2 separate regions of the Homo sapiens genome follow, and region 1 is linked to region 2. The links are contacts of gene promoters, found by promoter capture Hi-C in blood cells and fetal thymus (Javierre and others, 2016). All regions are on one chromosome and are shown on one strand. Each heading gives the region's core, a stretch centred on a gene start or on the middle of the fragment in contact. The rest is flanking DNA. Distances are from core to core; before and after follow the strand shown.

Region 1 (6,541 bases), core at 2,163-4,662, 470 kb after region 2:
CACTGTTGCCAGCAGGGTAAAGAATGGATGGTGCTAAGTAAGCAAAAACAGTAGCTGGCCACCATGCCCACCACCTTCAATCGATGTTCATTGATTTGCAGCCTGGCCAGCTCTGTGGTTCTTTTACTCCATGCTCTCCTGTTTCCTCAGTCAGGCCACTTTCGGCCCCAGTGTTGCTGACGCACAACTTTCTTCCCTTTGGCTGCAGCTCCAGATGAAGATGAGTGAGCGGGCCGCCTCGCTGAGCACCATGGTGCCCCTGCCTCGCAGCGCCTACTGGCAGCACATCACACGGCAGCACAGCACGGGACAGCTCTACCGCTTGCAAGGTAAGCGTGGGGCTACCTGTGTCCAGGGTGTGGGCCAGGCCTGGGAGTACTGGGGAGGGGGCTCAGCTCAACTCGCAGCTGCTGCATGCCAGCTGGTTAGTGCCCTTCCTCCAAAGGTAGGACCCCCATCAAGGCCTCACACACGAGGCACTTAATCTTTGTAGAGCCAAATATCTGTATGGCTCTAGAGATATTTGTATCTATCACAGTGTCCGGGGGGAAGTCACTTAAAATGAAGATTCTTGGGTTTCATCCCCAGAGACTCTAGATCTTAAGGCATAGGATGTGGCTGAGCAATCTGCACTTTTAACAGACCGTACACAGGGTCTGGGCGAGGGGCCAGGGACCAGGCTACAAGAAATGATGTAGTGGACTGATGAATCACAGCATCAGCATTACTTGAAGTCTTGCTAGAAATGCAAATTTCCATGCCCTTCCCCAGACCTACTGAATCAGGAGCTCTGAGGGTGGGGCCAGGCCACCTGTATTTGAACAAGTCCTCCAGGTGATTCTCCCGAGAGCTCAGGTCTAGGAGCCAATGTTTTGGTGGATGGGGCCCTGGACTGAGGCCAGAAGCCATGGCTTCAGGTTTGCTGAATGACTTTAGGCAAATCCTAGTAAGCTCTTCTTCTAGAGAAGTGGTCTCTGAAGCATGATGCAGAACAGCCCATAGTGTGGACAACATGAACAATGAAAAAATCTGCTTAAAATGGCCAGGCGTGGTGGCTCACGCCTGTAATATCAGCACTTTGGGAGGCCAAGGCGGTCAGATCACCTGAAGTCAGGAGTTGAAGGCCAGCCTGGCCAACATGGTGAAACCCTGTCTTTACTAAAAAAAATACAAGGCCGGGCGCAGTGGCTCACGCCTGTAATCCCAGCACTTTGGGAGGCCGAGGCGGGCGGATCATGAGGTCAGGAGATCGAGACCATCCTGGCTAACACAGTGAAACCCCGTCTCTACTAAAAAACACAAAAAAATTAGCCGGGCGTGGTGGCGGGCGCCTGTAGTCCCAGCTACGCGGGAGGCTGAGGCAGGAGAATGGCGTGAACCCGGGAGGCGGAGCTTGCAGTGAGCCGAGATAGCGCCACTGCACTCCAGCCTGGGTGACAGAGAGAGACTCCGTCTCAAAAAAAAAAAAAAAAAAACAAAATTTAGCTGGGCGTGGTGGCATGTGCCTGTAATCCCAGCTGAGTCAGGGGAATCACCTGAACCTGGGAGGCGGTGGTTGCAGTGAGCCAGAATTGCACCATTGCACTCCAGCCTGGGCAACAAGAGCAAAACTCCATCTCAAAAAAAAAAAATTCTATTTAAACCTATCCTTTCAAACATATTTGTTTTGTTTTGTTTTTCATTTCATAGTACATAAGAATAGCTTATTATGTTATGCGCCTTTGTGGGGGATACTTGTAAAAAAACTCTTTTTTTTTTTTTTTTTTTTTTTTTTTTGAGACAGAGTCTCGCTCTGTCGCCCAGGCTGGACTGCAGTGGCGCGATCTCGGCTCACTGCAAGTTCCGCGCAAAAAAACTCTTTAATGATGAGGTACAAGACCACCAAACTGGAAATAGAGTGCACTGGACTACACGTAGTTTACGTGCAGAAATTTGCTGAATAATTGAATGCAAGAATGAATGAATGACCATGGAAGACTATGGCCTTAGTCCTCCATGCTCGCTCTGAACCCTCAGTCCTCCATGCCCGCTCTGAACCCTCAGTCCTCCATGCCCGCTCTGAACCCTCAGTCCTCCATGCCCGCTCTGAACCCTCAGTCCTCCATGCCCGCTCTGAACCCTCAGTCCTCCATGCCCGCTCTGAACCCTCAGTCCTCCATGCCCGCTCTGAACCCTCAGTCCTCCATGCCCGCTCTGAACCCTGGTCACAACAGCATTTTTTTCTCAGTCTTTGCTGTTGGTCCTTTCTCCCCCAGGCAGCTTTTCCTGTATGCTGCGCCCGTCCCTCATCCTAGTTAACTCCTGCTCACCTCCAGGTCTCACCTCCAGCGCCCCTCAGGCTCCAAGAAAGCCCTCAGGACTTTCTTGTAACTGGAGTGGACATCTCTGATGACGTGCACTCATAAGATGCAGATGATGGCCGGTTTTCATTTCATATTTATGTGGCCAATTGACTCATGGTCAGCTCTCCCAGGAAGCAATAATGTACAGGAGGGCAGGAGAGCTGTGCCTCCTTCTATCTTTATCATTTTATCCCCCGGCACCTTGTATGCCTTCCATCAGGATTTGTCGAAAGAATGCATAATGTTAAGAAAGCACTGGGGGTATTTACATTTTAGTTTTCATGACTCTGTGCTCTGTTCACTAGCAGAGAGCATGGCACATAGCAGATGCTGCAAAAAAAAAAAAAAAAAAAAAAAAAAAAAAAGATACTGAGTGCCTCTGTGAGCAGCTGAGCAAACGACTGAATTAATAATTGACAAATAAGCTTACCTTCCAAGATTTCTCTGCAGAGAGAGTGAGTTAGATTGGGTTGTCACAATGCCACTGATTCTCACTTAAACTTCAAAAATGTTTGCAATATTTGAGTTATATCATCACAATTTTTGTCATATACATACCAGAATGTTACTCGATTTTACTCTCTTCTATTTTAATATACTTCTTTAAAAAAAGCATATTTTACTACCTTAATACTGTTATATCCACTGGTTATACTGTTTTTTTTTTTTTTTTTTTTTTTTGAGACAGGGTCTGGCTCTTCGCCTAGGCTGGAGTGCAGTGGTGCGATCATGGCTCACTGCAGTCTCAACCTCCTGGGCACCAGTGATCCTCCTGCCTTAGCCTACCAAATAGCTGGGACTACAGGTGTGTGCCACCAAGCCCAGCTAATTTATTATTTTTAGTAGAGAGGGTGTCTTACTATGTTGCCCAGACTGGTCTCAAACTTCTGAGCTCAAGTAGTCCTCCTGCCTCGGCCTCCCAAAGTGCTGGAATTATAGATATCAGCCACTGCACCCAGCTAGTTATGCTTTTTAATAGACAATAAAATAAATAATAAGTATTGAAGATTTAAAAGATGTTCACAGAGTACCTAAAATTATCTTGCTTATCAAAAGTGGCTATTTAAACAAGTACATTTAAAAAAAAAGTTTTATTCTTCTACCTATACTACCTACCTTCCCTCTCCCCTACTTTTCATACCCCTTAGAAAAAGGAAATAGGATTGGGAAAAGTTAATGACTTGGGGGCCTGGGGTGTGCCATATGATGAAGTTACAGAGCCTTTAATTTCTTCTTGTTTTGCTGATGATTATGGGTTGTAATTCCTCTGGCCAATTCACCTACATTGATGAATTTCAGGCTTTTTTTTTTTTTTTCTGGCAAATCTGGAGGTTAAGGTTGGAAATCATACAGACCCTTAAGGAGGAATTTAACAAATTGGTTTGAGAATAATGGTCATTTTCTTCAAATGTAGTCTTCGAGAGCCCCCTGCTGGTTGATTTGGGAATTATCATTTTACTACAGTTTTTGGTGGGGAAAGGGAGGTGGCTGGTTTTGACACGTGCCACACAAGACATACCTAATCTACCTTCACTGCTTCTCCCACGTCGTTTTAAAATTTTCATAGAAATTCTCTTCTATGATTATGCAGATACAAAATCAACATTGGAAGTAGGTTTATAATGAAAACTGTCTGGGCGTGGTGGCTCACACCTGTAATCACAGCACTTTGGGAGGCCGAGTTGGGTGGATCTCCTGAGATCTCGAGTTCAAGACAAGCTTGGCCAACATGGTGAAACCCCACCTCTACTAAAAATACAAAAATTAGCTGGGCATGGTGGCGGGCGCCTGTAATTCCAGCTACTCGGAAAGCTGAGGTGGGAGAATCGCTTGAACCCAGGAGGCAGAGGTTGCAGTGAGCCATGATCATGCCACTGCACTCCTGCCTGGGCAACAAGAGTGAAACTCTGTCTCAGTTAAAAAAAAAAAAAACAAAAAAACTATGGAAGAAACTTACAGAAGCAATCAACAAGTTTATGTTGAATACTATTCACTGGATTCTTTTAGGAATGCATTGGATAAAATAACAGCAGTTACATCAGTAGCATTTCCCAAATTATGTTCCTTGGAAAGCTAACTCTGGTAGACAGCACCTTTCCCCTAAGAAAGGTTACTGTGGTCAAACGCGTCTGGGGGAAATGCTACATGTTAAGTTCTCATGGAGAGTCAGAAAACAAATCAATAATTTCAGGGCTCTGAGATGCCCTGCAATGAAAAACCTGATTAAACTTGTTTAAACCAAAGCTCTGCACATCTATTTGGACATGAAACTTCTTTTCCTTCTTGTTATATGAATAAGCATTCACGTGCCACCAGTGCAGTGCTGAAATCTCAGATTTCATCATTACGAGGGAGACAAGCCATATTCAATGGGGTCTTTCTAAAAGCTACTCTTTCTGAGGACCTACTGTGTACCAGCTTTCCGCTGGGACCTAACATACATGATCTCATTTAGATCCCAAAACAGCTGCCCGAAAGGGTATTTTATTCTCATTTGCTGTTAGGAAACTGAGAATTTGAAGGGTTATTAATGGGTCCAAGACTACCTATCTAGTAAGTAACAAAGATTTTAAGGTTTTTCTCTCTCATTCTTCCATCCATCCATTCTTTGTTTACTCAGTAAACGTTTATTGAGCATCTAGTTTAGGCCAAGCGCTGTGCTAGATGACAGACATACCTGGGACTCCTAGGCAGGGATATTCCTTCCCTCTCGGAGCTTATAATCTAATGGAGAGTCACAATCCATAATCAAGCAGACATAGTTAATTTCAGATTTGGTATATGGAACAGTGGAAAAGAAAGTTTTTATGATAAAGAAAGTGAGGCAGAGCTGTTGGTTTTGAGAAGATGCTGACAAAGGGACTTCTTGAGATGGGGTAGTCAGTGGAAGCCCCTGCAACACCCCAAGACCTTAAGTCTAAAAGAGGCAGCCATACCGAGAGCCAGGGGAAGGCATTCTCCATAGAGAGGTCAGCAAATGCAAAGGCCCTGAGTCAGAAATGAGCTGCGGGCATTCAAAGATCAGGAAGGAGCCAGTGTGGCTGGTGCCTAAGGGACATAAAGAGACAGCCGGGGTGGTGAATACAGGTAATCAAGACTTGCTTATTCTAAGTGTGAGGGGAAGCATTAGAGGGTCCTCAGCATGGCAGTGTCAGATTTAATCGATATTTTCATTCAAGGGATTGCAAGAGAACAGGAGAGGAAGTGGGAGACTAGCCCCAAGGCCGTTGCACATGAGCACCGGAGTGTCTGGCCTCAGTACAATGTTCCTCTAACTCTCTCACCTCCTTCTCAAAGTTATCATCTCAGCAATCTTTACCCTTAGGCCAAGGTGCTTCATTGCTCCAGTGTTTTCCGAACTCTTCTGTGGGAATTGCCTTGGAAGATAGCATCACTGTTTCAAAACAAAAACAAGAAAAACTAGGCACCTATATCATAGATCGGACCTAAGATAATTTGAGGAAATCAAAGAGTGGCACTAAACAGTTGTGTCACTGAACCAGGCGTCTTCCATGTAGCCTTATGGGGTTCTCCTGACAACCATGGGAGTTGGTGAGAGTGGGACTATGGTCTCCATTTCAATGACTGAAGAAACAGAGACCTTTGGAGGTTAAGGTCTTACTCCAGGCCACATGGCTGGTGGATGTAGGCGAGACCCCCTCCCTACAAAAAATCCAAGAATTAGTCACGTGTGGTGGCACACACCTGTGGTCCCAGTTACTTGGGAGGCTGAGGTGGGAGGATCACCTGAGCTCAAGAGGTTGAGGCTGCAGTGAGCTGAGATCACGCCACTGCACTGCAGCCGGGGCGAAAAAAAATACATACAAATAAAATAAAATAAAATAAAAACAACATTGTTTTGAATGTGTGTGGGTGGGGCGGACATGCTCCACTGGCTGCAATCCTGTTTCTTGTGCCTGCTTGATCCACACATTTACTCACCAAGGCTGCGGAAGTTTGTTCCAAAGGCTTTGCGGTGAGTCCTGAGATCTTCACCTAGCCGTGTACATTTCTTTGCTTGCGGTAACCGTTGGCCAGCAGGTGGCAGTAGAACCTCTAGTTTTTGTTAAATCAGGGACGCATTATCTACAGGGATTGGCAAACAATGGCTTGTGAGCCAGATCCAGCCTGCTGACTATTTTCATTAATAAAGCATTATTAGGACGACATTCATTACATATTAACTGTGGCTGCTTTTG
Region 2 (6,332 bases), core at 2,868-5,367:
ACCTCGTCCTGGGTTATTTCCTGAGCTTTTCCTGAAGCCACCCTGAAGCTTAAGTTTCAGCTTTTGATCTAAAAATAATTCTGGCAATTTAAGAAAAGGAAAACATTTTTTTTTTCTAATCAGAATGGGGGAATAAAACCACAAAGGAATCAGCTAACTGTCCCTGTTGGCCCAGCATCTCAAGGATTGTGTTGCAGCAGCTATCCTGAGGTGTGCCCTTCCACATCTGGGCAAGCAAACGTCTCTTTATTGGTTGGTGGTTATGTTAAGCATGTTGAACTTGGAACCAGAAGATCTACCAATTCTGGACACAGCTCCTTCCCTAAGTAGTCTATGACCTTGGGATAGTCACATAAGACCTTTGGATGCCAGTTTCATAAACCAGAGTTTTCAATAACTAATGCCTCACATTTAATGAGGTCCATATGGTACCAAACACTGTACGAAGTGTATTGGTTGATCCTCTGACAACCAAGTAGTAGTAGGTACCGTCTCTACTCATTTCCCATGTAGTAGATGAGAAAGCTGAGGCTTAAAGAGGCCAAGTCACTCACTTATGCACACAGAGCTGATAAGTTGCCATCCTGGACCCTGCCGTGAGCTGGTGTGGCCATACAGCCCACATGTGTGGATTTAGTTTGCAAGTTTAATTTGCCCGCATAGCGCATTTAAAAGTTCTTTGAATTTGTTACCATTAAAAAAAACAAGAGGTTTCATATGAACATATGGATTTACCACTACTAGTTTAAAAATGTAAATAATAATTATGAGACTTGGTGACATGAGGTCTGCATTCTGACATGGCATTCGTTTGCTGGAACTGGGGCTGCTGTCCCTCCTGGGAGGGGCATGCACTATCACGTTTCCTGAAATTTTTACTGGGTCTGCCTTATTATTTTATATTAGTCATGTGAGCCCTGGAAGCTTCTGAGTTTGCAATCCTTCACCTATATGATCCCATCTGGGGACGCATCCAGTTCAAAATAAACATCCAAAGTGAACAGAAGTAAAAAGAGATTACTTTATGCTTAAAACTCCCTTTGACTCCGTGCTGGCTAAGGGATAATGTCCAAATACCTTAGTATAATACAAAAATATTGTTAAGACCTATCCAGTATCATTTCAGAGAAAGCCTCACATCAGCTACACTAAATGACCGATTCTCTGAACACACCACGTCATTTCATGCCTCCCTGTTTTCAGAAGGCTACTCTGTCTGCCTTAATGCCTTCCCCCACTTTCTCTGCTTTCAGACTCCTCCTGCAAAACCCAGCTCAAATATCACTACTTAAGAACTTTACAATGTTATCTCATTTAATTCTCACAGCAAACCCGTGGGGTGGGAACTGTTACTCCCATTTTGTAGATGGGGAAACTGAGGCTTAGGGAAGGTAAGTGGTATATAGCCAGGTCTCATAGCCAGGGAGTGGAAAGCTGGGGTTCAAATCCAGGGCTGTAGAATACCAAAGTCCACACTCTCCATTGCTCCCTCATTGTGATATGACTTTAAAAGAGGGTGGAGGAGGGAGAAATAAGGGTTTGGTGGGGAGGAGGCTGTAGGAAGGAATGGAGAGAAAGAGAAGACCCCCACTTTGAATCACCCGAATTGCATTCTTTTTTCCTTTGTTCTTTGTAGCTGTGACTTGAAGCTCCACCAATATCCCTATGTCCCCACGAGCCCCAGGAAAGCTGGCCCCAGCCTGCAGACCTCATTGATTTTGTTGTCCAGCTTCATCACTTCCCCTGGTTTCATTAGTTTCTTTTGAAAGGCACTCCGGACCCGCTGCCAGTCTTCCCCTTCCCTGTGAGAGAAGCAGGAATACATTTAGAGCACACTGAAAAGAAAAGAAGGAGATGCAGAAATACTCCAGCTGCAACTTCAGGAACCATAAAATCAAACAAACACTGAGAATCATGCCAAGAAATAGCCAGAGAATATTAGCATCAGAATATTTGGGATAAAATAGTGATCATCTTTTGACAATAGTTTGACAATAGGATGAAAAAGCACCTTTCCTCCTAGTCAAAGATTGCACCAAAAAGTTGAAGTCCAGATAATTTGGGTTCAGGGATTTTGAGGTGTCCTTGCAGGGAGTGGGGCTGGGAGGCCTGGGGACAATTCCTAGCGGTAAAAGGGGGCATGTGAACACCCCATCACCAGCAACTCAGATCTGTTTGAGGGAAGAATCTTGTCTTCTTTCAACTCATTGGTGTGGGCTTCATATTTACAAAATATCTCAGATTTAGAATTTTGCCATCGCCTCCAAATAATAACATACAGTCAGAGAGTCACTGGAGTAATAAAAAGCCTTTTGCGATCGTGCACTTGTAGGCACCTGCCCCATAGCAGACCATACAGCCTGTGAAGCACCGTGAATTAATAGGGTTTTTAATTCCAGTCATTATATCCTGGAAAATATAACGATTAGGCATTACAGTTTGGGGGTAAATAAAGGTGCTAACTTGTTAAATGCTAACAACTAAAAAGCAGAAGAATCACATCCCATAGTAGCATTTGTCGACCTAAAACACAACTTTGATATCCCTCCTTATTCCACCTTTACAAGTAGAAATAAGGCATGTCCCCCAATCCTCTGCAGAAAATGTCACTGTAAAAAGCCAAAGAGGCTAACTCCTCGCTTTTGAGCTTACAAGGTGTTTCAGGGAGTTTTAAGGGATAATTTTGTTTGTATAAGATGTTTGCCTGGTACGCTGACTTCAGAACCTCATCCTGCCCAAGAGTCTGAACACCACAGTTGGTACAACCCTGTTTTGGCGTTTCTTTGATGGGAGGGTGTGGCCCTGCCCTGTTGCCAGAGAGAACGCAGGTGCTGGGTGCACAGCACGGCTTTTCCGTGGACCGACTCTAATCTGTACAAGAGCTCAGGGTTGCGATGGCACGGGAGAGGGGCTTTGGTATCCGCCCTACGTAAGAAGCTTCCAACCCCAGGGAACTCTAACTCCGCCTCTTCACAATTTCCAGGCGCCGTCAGGCTCATCAGGTCTGGCCGCATGCCCAGGTCCCTCGGATTGGACTCACAGGATCAGCAGCCCGTAGCCTTCTTTGCGGTAGTCGCGATAGGCCTTCCACGGTTTGATCTCCAGCCGCTGCGGGTACGCGCTCTCGGTGCGGTACAGCGCTTCCAGCAGGCATGGCGAGCCCAGGTGCACCGACTCAAAGGAACCCAACTTCATGCGGAAAATCTTGCCATACTTCTTGTGGTACTCCACCTGCAGCCGGCCGGGCACAGCGCGGTGTCAGCGCGCATCCTCCGCCGTGCCCGAAGCGCTTTCCCTCCTCCCGCCTCCTTCCTCCTAGGGGACCGGGGACCCTCCCTGCCCAGACGCCGAAGCGCACCATGCGCCCGAGGCGCGCATGTCGGGGAGGGTTTGGAGCGCCACTGGGAGGGCGGAAGAGGGAGGAGAGAGTCAGGGGCGCGAAAAGGGGTTTACCAGGGTGTCGTGCTGTTTCTTGAGACCCCCTTTCCAGAGAATCTGCAGCAGGCTGCCCAGCAGTGGCCAGCTGGTGGGGCCCGGCAGGGCGGCCGCGTTCTGAGTCTCGCCACCAGCTGTCAGCGGGCAGACTGGCACCTCTCGCGGCTGAGGGGACGTGTACGCCGTAGATGTCACCAGTCTCGGGGGCTGCCTCGGACTGCGCAGCTGCTGCAGGAAGGCGGCAAGCGAGCGGCTCTTGCTGATGGGGGAGCTCATGGCAGCGGGGGACACCGGAGCGCGGGAAGGCAGGAGGATGGGGTGGGGCGAGGTTGGTACGAGGTGCTAGTGGGAGTCGGGGCTTAACGATTCTGGGAAAAGGAAGCAAAGAGGGCCAGCTGGTGTGATGGAGCGGGGTGAGGCGGGACAGGCAGCAGAAAGGACCTCGGCGAGGATGCTCGACGCTGCACCACGCGACAGCCTCAGAGCATTGGTGCCTCCTTGCACTGGCCGCAGGGGCTGGAAGAGGGTGGCCGGTGTCTGGGGACCTCTTGAAAAGGGAAAGCTGGGAGTCCTCCTGTTGGTCCGCAAGGCTGACCTCTAGGGTCTGGCTGGAGCCACGGGGAGGTGTCAAGGAGGGTAGATGAGATGCTGCTGGCGCTGCGTTTCCTCCTGTCCCTCTCCATGTTCCTATGCCCAGGGACCATGCATTTATGGAGACAGAGCATGCCCTGGGTGGCCAATGAGCACGCAGAGGAGGGCGGAGTGGCCCCCGGCTGGCCAGACTCCGAGGGACGCGGGACCCAGGGGAGGGGGGGTGGAAGGAGGATGGAGTCAGCGAGGTGAGCGAGGGCGTCCGGGCCTGGGGTGACCGGGGCTATGTTCGCTGGGCGCGGGAGGTGGGGTGGGGGCGGCAGACTCCACCCCGGAGATAACCCCCAGGAAGTCATGCGAAGCCCGGAGTTCACCGGGTGTGCTTCGAACGCGCCTCCCCGCCCTCCCCCGGCGGGCAGGAGCCGGCAGCGGCGGCCGTGGTTGCCGCCCGGCGCTTGCACAATCGCGATGCCGGGCGGGCGAGGTCCCCGAGTGCGGGCCCAGAAAAGCTGCCGGCGTCTGCCAGGGCCCCGGGGAGCCCGGGCGCCTCCCGGGGAGCCAGATACCCCCAGCCTGGACTGAAGTGATTTTTTTTTTTTTTTTGCCTTTTTTTTTTTGGAGGAAGTTTGGCTTTCTGCGCCTCCCAGGGTGGGGAGGATTTGAGTCTTACTGAAATGCACCAGAAGAGGAGACTTTCTTAACTTGAGCAAGAAGGGGAGTTTGTAGAATTTCCTTCCTGCTGTTTCATGTTTGGTTGTTTTGCAGATTAAATGAATTAATGCACGTAAAGCGGCAACAACGAAGCCTTGTCTATAGTCAACAGTCAATAAAAGTTAGTTGCTGTTGTTACTTCTTTAGGAAGTTAGGAAATGCGCCTTGAGAGCGTGGCTTGCACCAACGATGCTTGAATTCAGGCTGGGCCACCTCCCCTATGTCCACTGCCCGCCTCTGTTCTTCTACACCGACTACCTTGTGCAAAGGAGGGGCACACAGAGCTTGAAACCACCGCCCCCAGTACTCCCCCTCTCCCCCAAGGTGCGTCCTAGGCAGGTCCAGTGACAAACATACACAATTTCTAGAGTTACCGCGGCTGGCAAGAGTAGAACTCGCTTTGCTAATTCAGGAACGGAAGTTGGAGATTTTTGTTGATTGTTTTAAAGTGGCTCGAATCCTTTCAACCTGATCCAATACAAAACTACCACCAGCCAGGGAGGAGGGGAGGGACATTCTGTTTCCTCGCCCTGCTTTTCAATTACGTGTCTCAGTCATTTTTGCCCCAAGTGTTGGCAAATCCTTCCCTGGTAAATTCTTTTGTAAGCCTCTAGTTTGTTTCTTAAAAATCTTTTGCAGTCCAACTTAAGCTTTAACACCATCATTTCTGATTTGTCTGGAGGGGCTAATGACTGTTTATGTTAATAAAAATAATAGCTATTGATATATACTAAACTTTATGAATCTTGTACATATTTATATATACATTGTATGGTATATATGTTACAGCATACACTATAGATTATGTTATATGCAATACACACTAAATATACATAATATAGTATAGATTGCATACAGTATGTAGATTCCATATGTTATATAATATTCTCATGAAAGCTTTCTAGGGCTTATGATAAGTCAGGCACTGAGCTAGACATTTTACATCATTTTTTCCGTTTAGTTCTCATCTCAGCCCAATGTCAATAAAATGAAATAAAATAAAAAACAAAAAAAAATCAAAGACAAACAAAAAAACCCTTGACTCTTACAGAGCTAAGTAATTTGCCCAATGTCACAGACGTTACCATTGGCTCAGGTGGGATTCAGACCCAATATTTTCTGATTCTAGGCTGGGCCCTAAATAGTACACCCATATACATCATGCTATGTTATGTCACTTTTTCTTAAACCAGAGTGTCTCAGAATATTGGAAGTATTTCTTAAATGAGAATTATCACCAAGAGGAAAGTGGGGGGGATCAGAATGCCTACCATGTCAGTATGTGTGGGGCAGTGTGAGGCAAACGTTTTATGTGCTGACGGTGGTGAAAAAGAATAGCTCTGGCTGAGTGTAGTGGCTCACGCCTGTAATCCCAGCACTTTGGGAGGCCGAGGTGGGCGGATCACCTGAGGTTGGGAGTTCGAGACCAGCCTGGCCAACATGGTGAAAGCCCATCTCTACCAAAAATACAAAAATTAGCCGGGTGTGGTGGTGCATGCCTGTAATCCCAGCTACTCAGGAGGCTGAGGCAGGAGAATCGCTTGAACTCGGGAGGCGGAGGTTACAGTGAGCCGAGATCGCCCCACTGCACTCCA

The links. Contacts are between HindIII fragments. The CHiCAGO score rates a contact against its expected background, and 5 or more counts as called.
Region 1: a fragment that was not itself captured here is called in contact with the fragment with the promoter of CYP24A1 in region 2 in 5 of 17 cell types (monocytes, endothelial precursors, M0 macrophages and 2 more); the score reaches 8.7 in monocytes.

The regions. Positions count from the first base shown.
Region 1 is chr20:54,643,250-54,649,790 of GRCh38, forward strand. It overlaps DOK5 (docking protein 5), which reads left to right. Exons shown (of 8, transcript NM_018431.5): 7 at 209-329. Among named protein-coding and RNA genes, the nearest start is that of DOK5, 170 kb to the left of the region's middle. The HindIII fragment of the contact is 1,294 bases long and covers 2,766-4,059 here.
Region 2 is chr20:54,169,869-54,176,200 of GRCh38, forward strand. It overlaps CYP24A1 (cytochrome P450 family 24 subfamily A member 1), which reads right to left and starts at 4,118. Exons shown (of 12, transcript NM_000782.5): 1 at 3,454-4,118; 2 at 3,041-3,231; 3 at 1,709-1,802. The coding sequence starts at 3,711. RefSeq lists an enhancer at 3,748-4,341. The HindIII fragment of the contact is 2,450 bases long and covers 2,936-5,385 here.